Linked DNA regions of Homo sapiens: all the other regions are linked to region 1. The links are contacts of gene promoters, found by promoter capture Hi-C in human tissues and cell types (Jung and others, 2019). All regions are on one chromosome and are shown on one strand. Each heading gives the region's core, a stretch centred on a gene start or on the middle of the fragment in contact. The rest is flanking DNA. Distances are from core to core; before and after follow the strand shown.

Region 1 (3,471 bases), core at 506-3,005:
GTGCAGCCAAGGGCAGGGAAGCAACTGGCAAGTGGAAGCCTCTTGTACTGCACTGAGTCACCTGGAAGGTCTGTGGGGTCTGTACAGGGGTGCATTCCCACGCCCAAGGAAGAGCAGCATGTAGCAGAAAACACCATGACTGGTTGAGAGAGGCAGGAAGAAAGGAGGAAGTGTTCTGTTTTAGCACTTGTTATGGTGCTTCTTTTTCATTTTGAGAAAGGAGCTCTCCATTTTCATTTTATAGTGGACCCCACAAATCATGTTTCCAGCCCTGCTCCCAAACTCAGTAACAGTTAACCACAGCCATCGCTAACTACAGTGACCATGTGCTGTCAACGGATGGAAAGATCTTCACACCTCTGTGAGTTAAGAACTGTGATAATTTCCAGTCTGCATATGAGGAAATTGAGGCTCGAGTCACATGCAGAAGCCCCACATCGGGGTAGTGGAGGAGCTGCAATTCGACCCTGGGTTTCCCTGACCCCAGTGCCTGGGCACCCTTGCAGGTGGCTAGTGTGCAAGTAAGAATTAATGAATAGGTCAACCAGCCAGATGCAGGGACAGAATCAGGCCCATCCCCTGCCTTCCTGGGTTGCATTTGGGAAGGACCAGGGACTGAGCACCCAGCATTTGCAAAGCCAGAGGATGCTGGTTCTGGTGCGTGGTACTGGGGGCTGGGCCTGCGCAGCCTGAGTGGGCGGCAGCACGTGATCACCTGCAGCTGCAGAGCCGTGGTGAGCCAGGCAGCATCACCGGCTCAGCTGACCCTTCCTGGTACACAGGGCCTGGCCATCTTGTGCCCAACCCTGGTAAAGCACCATTTTGTTTCTGCCTCACCATTTGCTTCTCCTGTGTTTTGTGAGCTGTCTGAGATGTGCATCATTCTTCTGTATTTGGAGGGGGACATGGAGCCCAGTTAGGATACCTAGTGCCTAGGAAAAAGCCTACTCAATTTCCCTTGAAAATGTCTCCCTTGACCCCCACCGAATGCTTTTTTTCAGTCCTGATTGTCCTGACTGTGAGCATTCCATCCTGGCTTCTACACTGGGGTGCATTCCAGCCCTGTCGGTCATTATATTGCAAAGTGATGGATAGATGTACGCCCTTGTGAGAGCTTTAATTTAAATATTATCATGACTTCAAGAATCATACAGAACATTCAGGAAATGTTAACATATTGACTTTTCACAGAAACGTGAAAGGGGCTATATGTTTGGGATTACTCAAATTATCAGCAATTTCAATCAGCTTTTTTATGCGCCATTCAGAGAGCAAAATTAGAAGTGCTTGTGTTTGCATTCTACCATGTATTCAAGATAATTAAAAATTAGCCCGTGAAATCATAGAGATCTTTACAGTAGCAGCAAGGATTTGGAAGGAGCATTTCCCTCTAAGCAAATGAACTGGACTTTTCTGAGAGTAAATACGGAATCGGAATCCAGCTGCACATTTTATTAAAACTACGAGCATTTCATGTTCACCTCTCCGTGGCTGGCCACCTTCCGCAATAGTCACCCCGGCCATCCCTTATTAGCAACCGGCAGGAAAATAACTAAAAATAAGCAGCTGTTGAAATGATTATTTAAGCCTCTAAGAAATTCCTCCTGATGACTGTGCGTGACTGTGCGGTGGCTGCGCTCTCCCCGGTCCTGCCTCAGTTCGGCTGCACGTCTCTGCTGCTGCTTTAAGACTGCAGAGCGCCCCAGCGGCCAGAGGCAGGGGAGGGGTCCCTGCTCGCCTCCGCGCTCGGCTTCACTCGCCCGGCTCGCAGGCAGGGAAGGTTGGCAGAGGGATCCATGTGACTGAGGCCGGAGCACGGCAAAGATGAGCCTGCCCGCCCGCCTGCTGCCTGGATGCGGAGGGTGAGGGCTGGCGCACGGGAGGCCGCTGGCTGCGCATTCTGGGCGCCGAGTGCCCGGGATGAGCTCACGCCCGCGTCTGCGGCTCTCTCCACCTGCCGACCTGCCGGGGGCCCACTGAGCTGACGGCGCACCTGGGCTCCGGCCGCAGCGTGGGGCGCGGCGCCCGGGAGCAGGTGTGCAGGAGCGCAGCGCGCGGCGAGCGCAGCCCTCGCTCCGGAGCCCGGCCGCGCCGCGTGCCCGGGCGGCTAGGCAGCGGCGGCGGCGGCGGCGGGCGGCGGGCGGGCGGCGGCCCCCGGGCAGGTGCCGAGCGGCGAGCGGAGCCGGGCCGGGCGGAGCGCGGGGGGCGAGGCCGGCGCGTCGCTCGCGGGAGGCCGGGGAGCGGCAGGGGCATGTGGATACTGGCTCTCTCCTTGTTCCAGAGCTTCGCGAATGGTGAGCCTTTCGGTTTGTGATGAATTTCGTTTCCTTATCATTGACCGGGGGGGCGGGGGGGTGGGGGGTGGCATTGGATGCATGGGTAAAGTCTTCTTTCTTTTTCCGCTTCATCTGTGTTTAAAATTTCGTGCTTTTATTTATTTTTTAAATATCATATTTATTTTTTGGGGGAGAAGAGGTGGCAATGGAGAGGCCCGGGAGAAATTGCTCTGTAATCATTGGAAGGCGCTTACCTAGCCAAGTGACAGCTCAGAGCCTAACTCCAGTACTAGAGAGCTGCCTCATTCAGAATAAACCAGGTTTGGTGACAGAAGGAGAGACAGGAAGATTGCCACTTTGAATATTACAACCTGGAAAGGGATGTGACATTCCAAGTGCACGCAAGTGGAGGGGTCAATGAGGAACATCTCCCTTCAGATTCAATGCTTTTTGAGATTTTTCAAACACGTAATTTCATGCTAGTACAATGTATCTCCAGCACCAAGGAGGGCTTTAAGAATGTTCTGTCCTTCTATGCACCCCGTGCTGCTTCATGCTCCTCACAGTCGTTTATGTAAAAATATGCACTGATAAGCATTACATCATCTGAAATGTTGACAAATTAAAAAAAAAAAAACACCTGTATAGTTGTAAAAATGAAATCAGTGAATATTGTAAATAGCATACATTTCCTCATGCCCAGCCAATATTATATTTTGAAATGATTTCTTCCTGGGTATTTAGAAAGCTATTGCTCTTGACTGAGTCAGACCCAATTAGTAAGTGTGACTGCACCTTAGGCTGCCTGTCACCGCATAAATATGAACTTACATGTATGAATGGCTTCCTCTCTTGTGGGAACCAGAGGAAATTGTCATCATTTGACATCGCCTGGGAGTAGCTACGGCTTAAATTCCCATTTCAAATTTTGGAACACACATCTGCATAAAATGTATAACCTACTGACAGTTGAAATTAAACCATTAAGCAGAATCCCCTAGCCAGAAGAGAGGAGAGAGAGAGAGAGAAAGAGAGGAGGGAGAGAGAGCGAGACAGACACAGAGACAGAGAGAGAGAGAGAGAGAGAGAGAGAGAGGAGAAGAAGAGAAGGTAAAAGAAGAGAAGAGAGGAAATCTGGCCCTTGTGAGAAAATACGAGAAGCAAAGGGGAGGCTCTAAGATTTTCCTGGAAGACA
Region 2 (3,471 bases), core at 326-2,825, 200 kb before region 1:
GTCTGGGAACGGAGTCACTTGGGGACCTATGGGAGACTGGGCCTGCTCAGTCAACTCTGTTAGAGACTTGAGACCCCCATGAGCCACTGAATGTCCCACTGCAGTGATGCCAAAGACTCATCTCTTCCTTCTTGAATTTTTATCTGTTCTTGTGACCATGCCATGTGTGTGTACTGTGAAATTTATCACGTATCCTAGCCTTGCCAGAACTTGGGGAGGACTGTGTAGTCATTCTTGATATTAAAAGAACCAACTGCAAACATTACATAATTGTGAAGATGACCTCAATGAGTCTTATGCTCTGTGTGAACACTCCAATCCTATCACACCCTCATGATCTGGACATTTATTTTCTAAAATAACATTCTTCTGGCAGATTTAGGCACAATAAAGGTGGGAGGGTAGATGCATGCTCTGTCCAAGGGATGTAGCATCTGTACATTTCTATCTGTAACCGCACAAAGGGGAAGAGGCTTACAGTGCCTTTTGCTAGCATAGGGCTTGGAGATCTAGTACATCTATTGGGATTACAGGTTTGCAGTACCCCACAGCTACGGTTTCCTATCCAGTTCAAGTATAAGATGCTCTTTTGTATTTGAGCCAAAGGACTTTCTATCAATGGCTCTTGACTTGAGTAGATATGAAAGGCCTTTGATATTCTTAAAAGATATGTCTTGAGATCTTAATAAATATCAAAATTTTCTTATGCAATTACACATGGTTTTATCCAGGAAAAATATATGGTGGGCCGGTCAGAGGACAAAGCCCTGCTGAATTGTCACTTCACTTTTTTATTTTCTTTAACAGACAGAGTCTCATTCTGTTGCCCAGGCTCAAGTGTAGTGGTACGATCATAGCTCACTGCCGCCTTGAACTCTTGGGCTCAAGCAATCCTCCTGCCTCAGCCTCCAAAGCCCTGGGACTACAGGCATGAGTGACCGTGCCTGGCCCTACCTTGCTCTTCAGTACATACTGCACTTGCACCCAGGGACAAAAACTATGAAAAAAATGTGCAGTGTCACTAATCACCAGGGAAATGCAAATTAAAATGACAGTGAGATACCACCACCTTATTTCTGCAAGTATGGCCATTATTAAAAAGTCAAAAAAAAACCCAATAGATGTTGGCATCGATTTTGGGAAAAGAGGATGCTCACACACTGCTGGGAATGTAAATTAGTACAACCTTTATGGAAAACAGTATGGAGATTCCTTAAACAGCTAAAAGTAGATCTACCCTTTAATCCAGCAATCCCACCGCTGGGTGTCTACTCAAAGGAAAATAAGTGATGATATGAAAAAGACTCTTGCACACATATGTTCATCACAGCACAATTCACAATCGCAAAGATGTGGAACCAACCCAAGTATCCATTGACTAATGAGTGAATGAAGAAAATGTAGTATATATACACCATGGAATATTACTCAGTCATTAAAAGGAAGGAAATAATGCCTCTTAGAGCAACTTGAATGGAGCTAGAGGCAATTATTCTAAGTGAAGTGACACAGGAGTGGAAAACCAAAAGCTGTAAGTTCTCACTTATAAGTGGGAGCTAAGCCATGCATATGCAAAGGCATGCAGAATGATATCATGGACTTCAGAGGCTCAGAAAGGAGAGGGTGGGAGGGGGATGCAGGGATAACAAACTACACATTAGGTACAATGTACACGACTTGGGTGAGGGGTGCTCTGAAAGCTTAGAATTCACGACTATAAAATTCATCCATGTAGCAAAAAACTACTTGTACTCCAAAAGCTATTGAAATAATTTTTTTTTTTTTGAAAAAGAACTATTGCTTCCTGAGGCTGCCTCTCTTTCTCTTTAGTTCAGGACCTAGCACTAGCCAGTGGCTCGCTTTTTGGGTCATTTATTACTCTAGGAAGAGGAAAAGTTTAATCAGTTCACAAGAGCTGCTCATAAGTGTTGTGGAGAAGAGAATCAGCTGGGCTTTTGTGAATGGGGATATGGGTTGGTCAGCAGGCTTATTCTCAGGCAAATGATTTGCTCCAACATGCCAGCTTCCTACCTGGCATCAAAACAGGTCTCAGCAACATCACAAATTATCCTATGTCATGGACATGGGAAGTTAGGAAGAACAATTCAACTAGAATCTCGAATGAGGAGCAAATGTGACCGCTGTTATTTCTTCTTTGTTACTCGACATCCTGGGAATGTCCCCAGTTCCCTTGAGAATTAGTGGTCATACAGCAGCAAAGCTTCAGGTACCTTAAAGATAATCTTTTTATCCCATCTCATTCAGCAGAAGAGGACTTTGGGCCTCAAGGTTGTCATAACAAATCAGTGCAAGCACTCTAGCTCCACAATCCACTCATCTTCTGTTTCTTTATCTGTACGATGTCGTGATGGAAGAAGATTAGAGGTCATTTGTGTCACATGCTCGGAATGGATGAGACAGTCTATGGAAAAATGGCCCCTTCTAAAGCAGGATTTACACTAAGAATTCCTGAGTCCTGATGCTGGAGCTTCTTTGAAGACACAGCTAGGACAATAGCCCCTCTGTCCAAGCCTATGGGCCTTACCAGTGGCCACAGCCACGGGAAATGCTGTTCACACTGCTGATGACACAGTGGTACTGTCTTTCTAAAATCACCATTTTCCCACCTCAATTCTTTCTACATGGTCATTTTTGAAAACTCTAAATTCAGAGGGAATACTGCCATGTGTGAGTTATGCAAGTCGCACACATAATTTCCTTGCAGTGAGATATGAAAATAAAGTCTCTTTGTAATAAACAAAAAATATTATGCATAATTTCCCACTGGTCTTTTTTGTTAATTGGGCTCTTACTGTTGAAGCCTCTAATGTACAGAATAAATGAATAACTGGCTTTTATGCACAGCCTCCTTTCATTATGTACAAGGGCTCAAAATTTAAAGTGAGCTATTTTTAGATCTTACATTATGATATAAAGGATTGTTTATTGCTGGTAATGCAGGAAGCAAATTGCATTCCTGCTTCTGCCTGATTTCTCTGTGGTAGCTTATGCTGGCTTCCATTCTTGCTGATTCATTAATTACATCCAAAAAAGTCTCGAGTAAAGTCTGATCATTTTAAACAAGGAATGTGGTTCTCAAACAATTCTAGTACAATTCAAGTTCAAATTCTGCTTTGACCAATCAGGATAGTGGTCCTTAAATGAATCAAATTAAAATTCTCTTATGTGAGCCCTGCTGGGGTGAAACATAGGAAGTGAGATGTCATGTTAGGGGCAGGAGCAAAGTTCTCATTATGGCTTTTGCTTCAAAGGTTGGTTCTCTGCACCCTCTTTCTCAAATCCCTTCTGCCTCTCCAGCTTTTTCTCTCCTTTTCCTTCTCTGATTCATGATCCAACATTACGAATCTTTTTTAATGTGACAAAATGTCATGGTGCCTCACCTGATAGTTTTTGTTCTTTCAGGATCTGAGGCGGTAAACATAGAAATGACACAGAAAATAACGGTGAACT
Region 3 (3,471 bases), core at 513-3,012, 130 kb before region 1:
GCATATAAATAAATCTCAGGTGCTCTAGATAATATCTTCCACTGCTGAGGATTCAATTTCCTCATGTGGGCATATATTATGAGGAACTGATCACCTCAGTCCAATTAAAATTACTTTTGGTCAAGGCTGGATTGCAATTTTAGGATTGTTTCACATCTGGCAAGTCCTTGTTTCTTGTATATGGTGCTTCTAGGTTTTGGTTTATCTCCTTAGCCCAGAATATTCTGCCCTTTAGAGATTTTGTGCTTAGCTCCTTAGCCTTTCACCTTGTACAAGTTCAGAAATTGAATCTGGCAAATGTCTTGAGAGACCTGCCATGTGTTTTTATGTAGGCCCCCTCCCTCTGTGGGATATTTTGCTCTGCTTTTATTGGGCATGACTTTCCCAGATGTTTGACTGAGGGACCTGTTTTCTCAACTCGAATGCTTTGCCCTTTGGAGGCTTTGAATTTTTCCTGCACGTAGGCTCAAATATGGCTGGCAGCTTGAGAGGGAGGCCAGCTTCATGTCTGCTGAAGGGCTTCTCCCTGTAATGGGACTTAGTCTTTTAATCACTAGATTATTACAGAAAATTTTAATCTGTGTTTGTGTCTAGGTTTTTCCACTCCCAGCACTGTCAGAGAACTCAGAAGTCTCATGGGGAAATTGTTTGGAGATGACAATAGTTTCCAAGCCATCACTCTACCCACATGTGACTTCCCAAAGCCTACCAAGAGCATCCCTTAGTTTGAGATAAGCCTAATCTTTAACTGATGTCCAGAATTGGCAAATAATGCCAAAAGAAGAAAACAGCCAGCAATGACTACCTCACTAGAAGGAACTCTTCTGTCTCTGGGGCTTTAGTTCTTCTAATCTTTGGCTTTTCCATATGTCTTATTTCATTTGTTCTGCTATAGCAGAATACCTGAGACTGGATCATTTAATAAAAACAGAAATGTAATTTCCCACAGTTCTGGAGAATGGTCTAAGAACAGGATGCCGGCATCTGGGAAGGGCCCTCTTGCAGTGTTCTCACCTGGCAGAAGTGGAAGGGCAAGAGAGCAATAGTGGGAACTCACTCACATGAGCACTTTTTATAATGGCATTAATCACAATGGGGATTAAGTTTTCAACAAATGAATTCTGAGAGACATATACAAACCATAGCACTATAGCTTTCCAATCCTTTAAAAATATGGGTTGTGTAATTTATCCAGCTTAAAAAAAATTGTTGCAGTGGTGTTATTGGTCTGACATGCCCTAATACATCTTCCTGGAAGCAGAAGACATTATTACTTTTCTATAAGAAAAATTAGAATTCTTTCATTTTGGCCTTTGCCTATATGCACCATTTCTAGTGGTAGATATCAGCAGAACTGTCTAATCCTCCTTTATTGACTCATCACATTAGCTGGGAATATGCAATCATCACTACATGTTAAGTGTTGGATGTCAAAAGAGTAGAAATCCAACATTTATATTTCAAACTTTGAAAGGCATAATAAACATACATTCATTTATGGTTCTTATGGGCATTTAAGGGAACACAGTAGAAGAGAATTCAGTATCCATAAAGAGGAGCAGAAAGCACAATAAAAAAAAATTGCACAATATTACATGAAGCAGAAGAAAACTGAAGTATCCTGTGGGGCACTTTAATTAGAGCCCAGAAAATTGCAATTTCTTTAGAAACAACACAAAGAACAGGAAACATCCAGTGTAGATTCACAAAGGACTACTTAGAGGTATACCAAAAAAAAATTATGCTGGAAACGATAAACAAGGGAGTGAAACTCAGAAATGAAAGGAAAAAAAAAAGTTAACTTCAAAAAAATCTCAAAATGTTTCAACATGATATAATGCCAATTAGACCAAAACAAAAACAAACAAACAAACAAACAAAAAAAGACCGAAAAAACAAACCCACCAAAAAACCAAAAAAACAAAATCGGAAAACACCACTCTAGTTCCTCAACATCCCCCGCAAGGATGCGAGTTGTTAAATATTTGAGAAAATTGTGAAAACAATCAATGTGACTTCAAATTGTTTGTAGTGCAAGGTAGACAGATGACAGTAATGGTATGAGTCTTTGCAAACAGACCTTTGTTTATTTTTACGATTCCTTAGTGTTGAAATATCTGCTTGTTCAAAATATGAAATGTATTACACATATGCACGCGTATTTCTGAGTGTATGTGTGCACTAAAGCAAAGGCAGAATAATTGTGTGTCACTAGTTTTATACATAGATATGGCCACTCTCTTTTCTTTTTTCTTTTCTGAGACACGGTCTCTCTGTTTCCCACACTGAAGTGTAGTAGCGTGATCTCAGCTCACTGCAACCTCTGCCTTCTGGGTTCAAGAGGTTCTTCTGCCTCAGCTTCCCGAGTAGCTGGAATTATAGGCACACATTTCCACACTCAGCTAATTTCTGTATTTTTAGTAGAGATGGGGTCTTACCATGTTGGCCAGGCTGGTCTCAAACTCCTGGCCTCAGGTGATCTGTCCACCTCCGCCTCCCAAAGTGCTGGGATTACAGACATGAGCCACTGTCCCCTGCCAGGTACTCTCTTTTCTAAACATAATTGAGAATAAATAATCTGACATATGTGTGTGTACACTCAGGAGTCCTAAGGGACAAGTGTTTGAAATCAGTAATGTTCCAGAAAATTCAAGGCATACTGGGATGCTGTGTTGGGGCAGTAGAGAGACCATGGATTCCAGAGTCAGACTTGGATTCAAATCCTGGTGGCACCACAACAAATGGATGAGTGTGAACAAGTCATTAATCTTTCTGAACTTCAGTCTCCTCATGTCTAGAATGGGGATAATATCCATTTTCATAAGGTTTTGGTGGCAATTAAATTAGTAATAAATAAATTAGTGATGATAAATACCAAGCACAATGCTGGGCACCTGGTAGGCATTCCATAAATGATAGATCTGATAGTCATGTGGTGCACAGGGAACAGGAATTATCAGGCAGCAGATGGTAGAGGCATGGCTAAAAGGTGGTGTTTCAAGTTAAGAAAGAGGGGCAGTGGTAGAATGTGGACCTAATGAACTCACTAGGATATCAGAGATTGGGGAGCAGAGTTGGTAGATGGAGGAGTGTGGCACTGGTATTGCAAGAAAGCCTGGGTTCTAGGAAAAGAAGAAAGATGGCGACATGTACATGATGTAGGTTGAGGGGACTGTGATGCAAGTGTGGGGGACAGTGATTGGGCCCCAGAGGGGTCTCCCTGACTATGGCATCTTCCAGGTTTTTCTGAGACTTGACAGTGTCTTCTTATAATGCAGTCACAACAAATCTGGCAATCCAGGGATCCTACTTTGGGACCAGGTCTCTATTGTACCCTCCCATGAAGCCAATATAGTGTATAATCAATTAAAAAATTCATGTGCGATCTCTTCCACTCCTGGTAAAAGTCACTATGACTCTTGATGAATGATTCAATAGCTTCATCACCACTACTCTTAACTGTAAGATGAG

The links. The method cuts DNA at HindIII sites, captures the fragments that hold promoters and counts their contacts. A contact is called where the count stands out against the background at its distance.
Region 2: a fragment that was not itself captured here is called in contact with the fragment with the promoter of DSCAM in region 1 in 1 of the 25 tissues and cell types used here (H1 embryonic stem cells).
Region 3: a fragment that was not itself captured here is called in contact with the fragment with the promoter of DSCAM in region 1 in 2 of the 25 tissues and cell types used here (dorsolateral prefrontal cortex and heart left ventricle).

What each region holds. Positions count from the first base shown.
Region 1 is chr21:40,845,442-40,848,912 of GRCh38, reverse strand. DSCAM (DS cell adhesion molecule) reads left to right here and starts at 1,755. Exons shown (of 33, transcript NM_001389.5): 1 at 1,755-2,294. The coding sequence starts at 2,252. The HindIII fragment of the contact is 24,098 bases long and covers 1-3,471 here.
Region 2 is chr21:41,047,864-41,051,334 of GRCh38, reverse strand. No RefSeq gene overlaps it. Among named protein-coding and RNA genes, the nearest start is that of LINC00323, 98 kb to the left of the region's middle. The HindIII fragment of the contact is 5,495 bases long and covers 1-3,471 here.
Region 3 is chr21:40,977,326-40,980,796 of GRCh38, reverse strand. No RefSeq gene overlaps it. Among named protein-coding and RNA genes, the nearest start is that of DSCAM, 130 kb to the right of the region's middle. The HindIII fragment of the contact is 4,912 bases long and covers 1-3,471 here.